Regions from separate parts of the Homo sapiens genome. Here all the other regions are linked to region 2. Evidence: promoter capture Hi-C in human tissues and cell types (Jung and others, 2019). All regions are on one chromosome and are shown on one strand. The core of a region is centred on a gene start or on the middle of the fragment in contact, and the rest is flanking DNA. Distances in the headings are between cores, read along the strand shown. Region 1 has its middle 10 kb from the start of MIR4712. Region 2 holds the start of USP8 (ubiquitin specific peptidase 8). Region 3 overlaps USP8 (ubiquitin specific peptidase 8).

Evidence for each region. Contacts are between HindIII fragments. The study calls those that stand out against the background at their distance.
Region 1: a contact is called between a fragment that was not itself captured here and the fragment with the promoter of USP8 in region 2, in 1 of the 25 tissues and cell types used here (ovary).
Region 3: a fragment that was not itself captured here is called in contact with the fragment with the promoter of USP8 in region 2 in 1 of the 25 tissues and cell types used here (mesenchymal stem cells).

What each region holds. Positions count from the first base shown.
Region 1 is chr15:50,369,188-50,371,887 of GRCh38, forward strand. No RefSeq gene overlaps it. Among named protein-coding and RNA genes, the nearest start is that of MIR4712, 10 kb to the left of the region's middle. The HindIII fragment of the contact is 3,399 bases long and covers 1-2,700 here.
Region 2 is chr15:50,423,020-50,425,719 of GRCh38, forward strand. It overlaps USP8 (ubiquitin specific peptidase 8), which reads left to right and starts at 1,386. Exons shown (of 20, transcript NM_005154.5): 1 at 1,386-1,495. RefSeq lists enhancers at 209-1,205, 1,244-1,633 and a silencer at 1,084-1,133. The HindIII fragment of the contact is 18,008 bases long and covers 1-2,700 here.
Region 3 is chr15:50,462,858-50,465,557 of GRCh38, forward strand. It overlaps USP8 (ubiquitin specific peptidase 8), which reads left to right. Exons shown (of 20, transcript NM_005154.5): 7 at 2,190-2,334. It also overlaps the pseudogene RNA5SP395. Among named protein-coding and RNA genes, the nearest start is that of USP8, 40 kb to the left of the region's middle. The HindIII fragment of the contact is 3,549 bases long and covers 1-2,700 here.

The DNA of each region.
Region 1 (2,700 bases), core at 25-2,524, 54 kb before region 2:
TTATTTAAGCCCATGGTAGTTTTATGGCATCCTAAGCTAAGACAGCGCGTCTCTAGTTTCCCACAGATTCATAAAGGTCCATACAAAAATGTTATAACTGTTAATAGTGTCCTGTCCTTGAATTTAACAGCAACCAACATATTGTTTGCATAGTTCTTGCACCATTTGGAAACAGTGACCTTTAGGTGTTGCAGGTAACTATTGGGAAATCCTTCAATTTGTTTAACATTTCCATATTTTGATTTGCATCTTGGGAGTTGCTTGGAATTTGGGATCCTCTTCTGTCTCTTGAGTTGAAATCAGAGGCTGCTTGCCGGGCAAGGTGGCTCACGCCTGTAATCCCAGCACTTTGGGAGGCCCAGGCAGACAGATCACCAGATGTCGGGAGTTAGAAACCAGCCTGGCCAACATGGCAAAACCCCGTCTCTACTAAAAATACAAAAATTAGTCGGGCGTGCTGGTGCATGCCTGTAATCCTAGCTGCTTGGGTGCTGAGTTAGGAGAATTGCTTGAATCCGGGAGGTGGAGGTTGCAGTGAGCCAAGATCGTGTCACTGCACTCCAGCCGGGGCAACAGAGCAAGACTCTGCCTCAAAAAAAAGAAAAAAGAAATCAGAGGCTGGGCATAGTGGCTCATGCCTATAAGCCCAGCACTTTGGGAGGCCAAGGCAGGTGGATCACTTGAGGCCAGGAGTTCAAGACCAGCCTGGGCAACATGGCAAAAGCCTATCTCTACTAGAGATACAAAAGATTAGCTGGACGTGATGGTGTGTGCCTGTAATCCCAGCTACTCAAGAGGCTGAGGCACAAGAGAATTGCTTGAACACAGGAGGTGGAGGTTGCAGTGAGCCAAGATCACGCCACTGCACTCCAACCTGGGGCAACAGAGTGAGACTCTGTCTCAAAAAAAAAAAAAAGAAATCAGAGATAATATAAATGCAGGTGTAAACTCATACACTTAATGGGCTATAAGTTTTGGAACTGGCTGTGATAATATAACAAAAGTAATAATGGGCTGTAAGTGGTATTAAATGTGGGATTAACTGGATATTTAATGATACCAAGGAATCATTAATTTTGTTTGGCTGTGATGTTTTATTATTAGAATGATGTTATGATTAAATTTTATTTTTGTCTGGATACAGTGGCTCACACCTGTAATCCCAGTGCTTTGGGAGGCCGAGGCAGATGGATCACTTGAGGCCAGGAGTTCCAGACCAGCCTGGCCAACACGGCGAAACCCCATCTCTACTAAAAATACAAAAAATTAGCCAGGCCTGGTGGTGCACGCTTGTAATCCCAGGTACTTGGGAGGCTAAGGCAGGAGGATCACTTGAACCCAGGGGAGGCTGCAGTGAGCTGAGATCGTGCCACTGCACTCCAGCTTGGGCAACAGAGCAAGACTCCATCTTAAAAAGAAGAAAGAAAGAACTTCTATTTTTTAAATGTTTTTTCCTTTCATTGAACTCCATTTATAGCCTTTCCATTCAGAGCATAAAGATTAAATTTTAAAACAAGGCTTGGCACCCTGGCTTATGCCTGTAATCCCAGCACTTTGTGAGGCCAAGGTGGGCGGATCACCTGAGCTCAGAAGTTTGAGTCCAGCCTGGCTAACATGGTGAAACCCCATCTCTAAAAGAGTACACAGTCCTAGAGCAGTGGTGTGCGCCTGTAGTCCTAGCTACCTGGGAGGCTGAACCAGGAGAATTGCTTGAGCCTGGGAGGCAGAGGTTGCAGTGAGCCAAGATCGCACCATTACACTCCAGCCTGGGTGACAGAGAGAGACCCTGTGCCCCTCAAAAAAATGTTTTTTTTAAACAAGAATCTCTCAGGCATACTGAAATGTTGAAGAGGAAATTATATTAATATCTGGGACTTGTTTCCAAATTTGGAATTGGGGCAGGGTGTAAATTGTTGGCAATATCAAAGAAACGAGGAGTTGGAATGATAATTGTAGAAGCTGCATGATAGATACACATTCTTTATACTTCTGTATATGTTGAAATTTTTTATCAAATTATAATTGTGTATAATGACTAATTATGCTTTCATTGTCTATTCTGTGTGGTTATGTTACTTGCTGAAATTAATACATAAAGAGTCTTCAACTTAAATGACTTATCAAGCATAAATATTAAAATACTGGATGTTACTACACATTTGACTCCACTTATGCATTTATTCATCAACTATTAAATGCTTTCATGTAGATTTCTCATTTAATCTCTGCAAGGTAGGTGTTACCCCTGGTTTTACAAATGAGAAAATGTAGATTCAAGATAAGTAATATGCAGGTCAAGAATAGCAAAATCGGTCGGGTGCGGTACCTCACGCCTGTAATCCCAACACTTTGAGAGGCCGAAGTGGGTGGATCACCTGAGGTCAGGAGTTCAATCCCAGCCTAGCCAATACAGTGAAACCCCATCTCTACTAAAAATACAAAAATTAGCCAGGCATGATGGCAGGTGCCTGTAATACCAACTACTCGGGGGGTTGAGGGAGGAGAATCGTTTGAACCCGGGAGGTGGAGGTTGCAGTGGCCCGAGATTGTGTCACTGCACTCCAGCCTGGGCGACAGAGCTAGACTCCATCTAAAAAAAATGAAAATAGCAAAATTACAACTTTTCCCCCATTTGGTCTTCCACCTGGAAACTCATGTTTTATTTCTACTGTTACCATGCTGCTTCTCAGACATGCCTGA
Region 2 (2,700 bases), core at 136-2,635:
CTGCCCACCTTGGCCTCCCAAAGTGCTGGGATTACAGGCGTGAGCTACCGCTCCCGGTCTAATTTTTAAATTTTTGTTTTGTAGAGATGAGGGTCTCCCTTTGTTGCTCAAGCTGGTCTCTGTCTCTTGGGATCAAGGGATCCTCCTGCCTCAGCCTCCCAAAGTGCTGGGATTACAGGCCTGGGCCACTGCAACCTGGCCTTCATCACAAATTCATTGAACACACTTTCTTTATTTTATCCTTTTTTATTTTTAAAAATTTTTATTTCAGTAGTTTTGGAGGAACAGGTTGCATGGAAAAGTTCTTTAGTGGTCATTTCTGAGATTTTGGTGCACCCATCACCCGAGCAGTGTACACTGTACCATGTGGCACACACTTTCACTTAAAGCATTTACTAGACCTCGCTAGCCAGATTTCCCATCCCTGAGACACCTGGAATGTTCCTGAGGACTTAGTGACTACTGCCTAAAGCTCCACCCAAGTCAATTTTATGTTTACAGGCAACCGGAGCATCCAATCACCTTTCTCTAAGAGAGTACAAAGATCAGCTCGCGAGAAAGTTCAGACGTCTCATTTCGTTTCTATTACACGGGGCCTTCGCCCAACCAGACGGAGTCTTGCTCTGCTGCCCAGGCTGGAGTGCAGTAGCGCGATCTCGGCTCATTGCAACCTTCGCTCCCCGGGTTTAAGCAATTCTCCTGCCTCAGCCACTGGAGTAGCTAGGATTACAGGCGCACGCCACCACGCCAAGCTAATTTTTTGTATTCTTAATAGAGACGGGGGTTTCACCATGTTGGCCAGGCTGGTCTCGAACTCCTGACCTCATCATTTGCCCGCCTCGGCCTCCCAAAGCGCTGGGATTACAGGCGTGAGCCACCGTGCCCAGCCTCGCCGGGGCCTTTTAAGTGACGTTAAAAATTGTACATAAAATATGTTTTAGGATAATACTTGTTTTTCTTTGACCAAAGGCTTGGCTTCAGAGAATGTTTAGCCAGAAATAGAGGGGCGTTAAATCCCCTTTTTTCTAATTTCCAATCTGAGGAGGAAAATAACGTAGTAAAGGGACGCAAGAGCAACCTTGCTTCTTCCACAACAAGGCCCAGGCGCCGCCTTGCAACCCGGAAATGCAGGGTGCAGTGCGGGGGGTAAGGGACCGGCCAACTATGTTGACCCGACTCAGAGAAACCCCGCCCTTGCCGCCACCGCCCACCCATAACGTCCTCCTCGACCCTCCCTCGACCATCCCTCGCCCCGCGGCCCTCACCGAAAAGGGGAGGGCGGTGGAAGAGAGAGGAGTCAAGGGAGCGCACGCGAAGCCCCGCCCCTGCCGTGACGTCTGGAGACGCGACGCGTCGCCTCGCAATGCAAATCGGGAAAAGGGGGTGAGCTGGGCTGGCTTCCGTCCTGGTAGCCAAGGCTAATTCTCCCTCGAGTTCTTGGGAGATGGGCATTTGGCGAGAAGGCTGGCGTTAGTGAAGCGCGCCCGGCGTCACGGTGAGTGCGGGTCTTGGGCCCTAGCACCTGTTCTCTGGGAAGTCGTCCGCTGTGAACGATGAACGCCTTTCCTTCCACCAGCTGCTGGTTACCCCGGAGACAAGCTCTGTCCGCGGAGAGGAGTGGGACAACTCCTAAAGGTAGAATCAGCTTGTGGAGAGGAAAGGCCCAACCTTGAGTCTTTTACGCCATCTACCTAGGATTGCCAAGCGAGTTTCGTGTGTTTTTTTGGTTTTAAAAGGTGGCTTTGACCAATCTTCCGTTCTCTTGGACACTTATACCCGACTTTGACCTCTTTCCTCTTGCTTCCGGTTTTTTTTTTTTTCTGCAATCTGCCTACAATCCCAGGCCTTACTGTAGCTCCTAAAACTGTTTCCCAGTTTCTCTTCTTCCCCAGTCACACTTGATTTTAGTGAAGTTTGAGTTTAAAGACCCTATAAGCTTGTCAGAGTTAAAACTATGACTTCCTCAAATAGAAGATTTTTTTTTTTTCCCCTAAAAAGTGCCTTCCATCCTAGAGTTGTGGGACAAGTTAATTTCACCGCCACTCCACCTTGGAAATTATCAGAATCCTTACTAGCAGTGATGTGCATTATAAAGCTGCAGACCACCCTCCTGGGTTTATTTCTTGCCTCCAGTTCATTCTGTGACCTTGAACAAGTCACTTAATCACTAACAAAAAATTTACCTGACACGGAGGTGTTGCAGAGCCTAAGGAATTTAGTATTTGTTAAGAGACCTGAGGGTTTCAGATGAAAGGGATTTATATCTAAAGGATGTTACCTTTTCTGAATCTGCAAAGCATCGTTAGTTTTGTAAATATCTTGCTGCAGCCATTAAAAATGCCAAGTGGTATTTGTTAAGGAAGTATTCCTGTTTTAGGCTTGCTCTGCTGCGGCTTTGCTATGTAAGCAGATTTTTGCATTTCAGCCGATTCTGTTTAAGATTCGTTGGTGAATGTCATTCATGATGGATTTGGGTAGTTTCTCCTTACAGCATATCCCTGGACTATTAAGCATATCTGGAAGGTGATATCGGTTGTGTTATGTCTTTATCATGTTGATATGGCTGCTTTGAAATATGTATTCCTTTTCTTGTGACACATTGGATGCATCTTTAATATTAGTGAAGACCCTGTAGTAGTTTAAAAAAAAAATACACCTCTCATTAATGAAATTTTGCACATAGACATCTGTTTTTTTAAG
Region 3 (2,700 bases), core at 181-2,680, 40 kb after region 2:
TCATTTATGACTAGGTTGTAGATTTAATTTTTTCTCCCCCCATCCATCCTGTGGTCAAAGACTAAATTATTTAACAGTCATTTACATCCCCCATAAAAAAAAAATCGAGGCCAGGCGCAGTGGCTCATTCCTGTAATCCCAGCACTTTGGGAGGCTCAGGAAGGAGGATTGCTTGAGCCCAGGAGTTCAAGACCAGCCTAGGTAACATGGTGAAACCCCTGTCTCTACAAAAAATACAAAAATTAGCTGGGTGTGGTGGTGGATGCCCTTAGTCCCATCTGCTCAGGAGGTTGAGGTGGGAGAATTGTTCGAGCCCGGGAGGTTGAGGCTGCAGTGAGCCACGATCACACCACTGTACTGCAGCCTATGACAGTGAGACCCTGTCTCAAATCCAAACCAGTAATATGGAAATTATCCATAGGTGGCGTTGATGCTCTAGTGACAAATATGTGACCTAAACAAGACTTTGGAATTCCTCTTCATCTGCTAGAGACGTTTTCCTCTCTCAGAAAAGGTTTACCTTGTCTACAGCCATACCACCTAACGCGCCCGATCTCGGGAGCGAAGCAGGGTCAGGCCTGGTTAGTACTTGGATCAGAGAAAAGGTTGAACTTAAACATAATTATAGGTAACAGTAAAATAAATTCTCTACTTAAAATATTGCCATACAACAATTACAAAAGTAAACTGAGTGTGCTATAAGGTACTTCCCTAAAAGCTGTTACTGATTCATTCCAAGATTAGTTTTTATGCATTTGTTCCTTTGTATGTCATCCTGCTTAAATGTTGTCCTTCTCAGTGGTTTGTTAACAACTTTTTTAGTCTGTTTTGTTAGCATACACTTGATGGCTAGAGATGGAAGGAGGACGATTGTTAGCAGCTATAGGTCTTTTAGCATAGGAGCTACTGAGACTACTTTTCTTCTCACAGCTCACTGCTGAAACAGCTTATTATATAATCTCAACTCTCTTGTAGTGCCTTTTAATCTTTCACTTCAGTAGAGCTAAGGAAAAATAGTAACATAGGGAATATTTATTTTGACAGATTGCTGCCCTCCCCCAAAAGTAAATAAATTAAATATTGCATTAGCTTTACTTAGTTTCCTTTTTGTTAGCCTTCTTAGAAAACAAAATAATCTTTTTTCCTTCTGGCTGGGAGCTAACAAATGAACATCAAGTAGAATGACAATTGGCAAATTTTTCTTAAAGGGATAGATGGTAAACATTTTAGGCTTGGGGAACCTTATGGGCTTGGAGAGTCCTGTGGTCTCTGACACAACTATTGATCTCTGCTGTTGCAGTATGAAAAAATGTGTAAACAAACTAGTGTGGCAGTGATCCAGTAAAAACAGATGGCCATAGTTTTTCAACCTCTGATGTAGAATAGCAAGCTTTTGACTTGTTATTCTAAGAATACTTGGATATCTAAGTTTTTCAAAAAGCTACCGTAAGACTGCCATCAGAGACCTTTTGAATTTAGAACTTTTCCAGAATTTTAGAACCATAGATATTTCTTTCTTCCAGTTAGCATTTTTCTAATGTCTTAATTTTTGAAAACATACTATTTTCCTGAGACACATATATTAATGTTCTTTATTTTATGTTGGTAACAGAGTCAATACCAGGTGTAGCTGTAAACTCAACAGAAAGTTTTGATTTTTAAGTCTTTGTAAACAGAGCATCGAACTGGTTTCTTGATAAATGTTAAAAACACAAGGTCAGGTATGTGGTGGCTCACGCCTGTAATCCCAACACTTTGGGACGCCAAGGTGGGCAGATCGCTTGAGGTCAGGAGTTCCAGACCAGCCTAGTCAACATGGTGAAACCCCATCTCTACTAAAAATACAAAAATTAGCCAGGCGTGGTAACAGCCTGTGTTCCCAGCTACTCAGGAGGCTGAGGCAGGAGAATCACTTGAACCTGGGAGGTGGAGGTTGCAGTGAGCTGAGATCATGCCACTGCACTCCAGCCTGGGTTACAGAACGAGACCCTGTCTCAAGAAAAAAAACAAGTTGTATTTAATGTTAGTTTACAAGATAATAAATGGTATGATGGAGTAGTAAATATGTGGCATCCATATATATTCAGTATACTTTGCTCTTCTAGAAAAAGCGGTTTGTCCTGTGTTTTGTGATGTCAGCACATCTTGTGCTGTTTCTTGTCACTTACACTGTCTCTCTCAATTCCAAGGAGCAATCACAGCAAAGGAACTATACACAATGATGACGGATAAAAACATCAGCTTGATTATAATGGATGCTCGAAGAATGCAGGATTATCAGGATTCCTGTATTTTACATTCTCTCAGTGTTCCTGAAGAAGCCATCAGTCCAGGGTGGGTTATTGTGTAGTAAAGTAGTAAACTGTGTAGTAAGTAGTAAACTGTGGACCTTAGTAAATGTTACTACTTAGCATCCAAGCTAAATGTGATAAAGTAGTCTTTTCCTGGTAACTTTTTAAATCTTTGCCTCTTTTTATGTGTGTGGGTGGTGGGGGAGGGGAGGGGGAGGTACATTTTAGGAGCAGAGGTTTAATAGGCAAAAGAAAGAGAAAGAAGAACTGCTCTCTCACTTTTGAGAGTGAGGGGTGCCCAAGTGGGATTTCCCTAAATCTTTGCTTCTTAAAGACACACTCCACCCTTTTTGAAGGTTGAAGTTACGGATTTGCCAACTTTTGATTTGGCTGTTTTCTCCTATTGGTG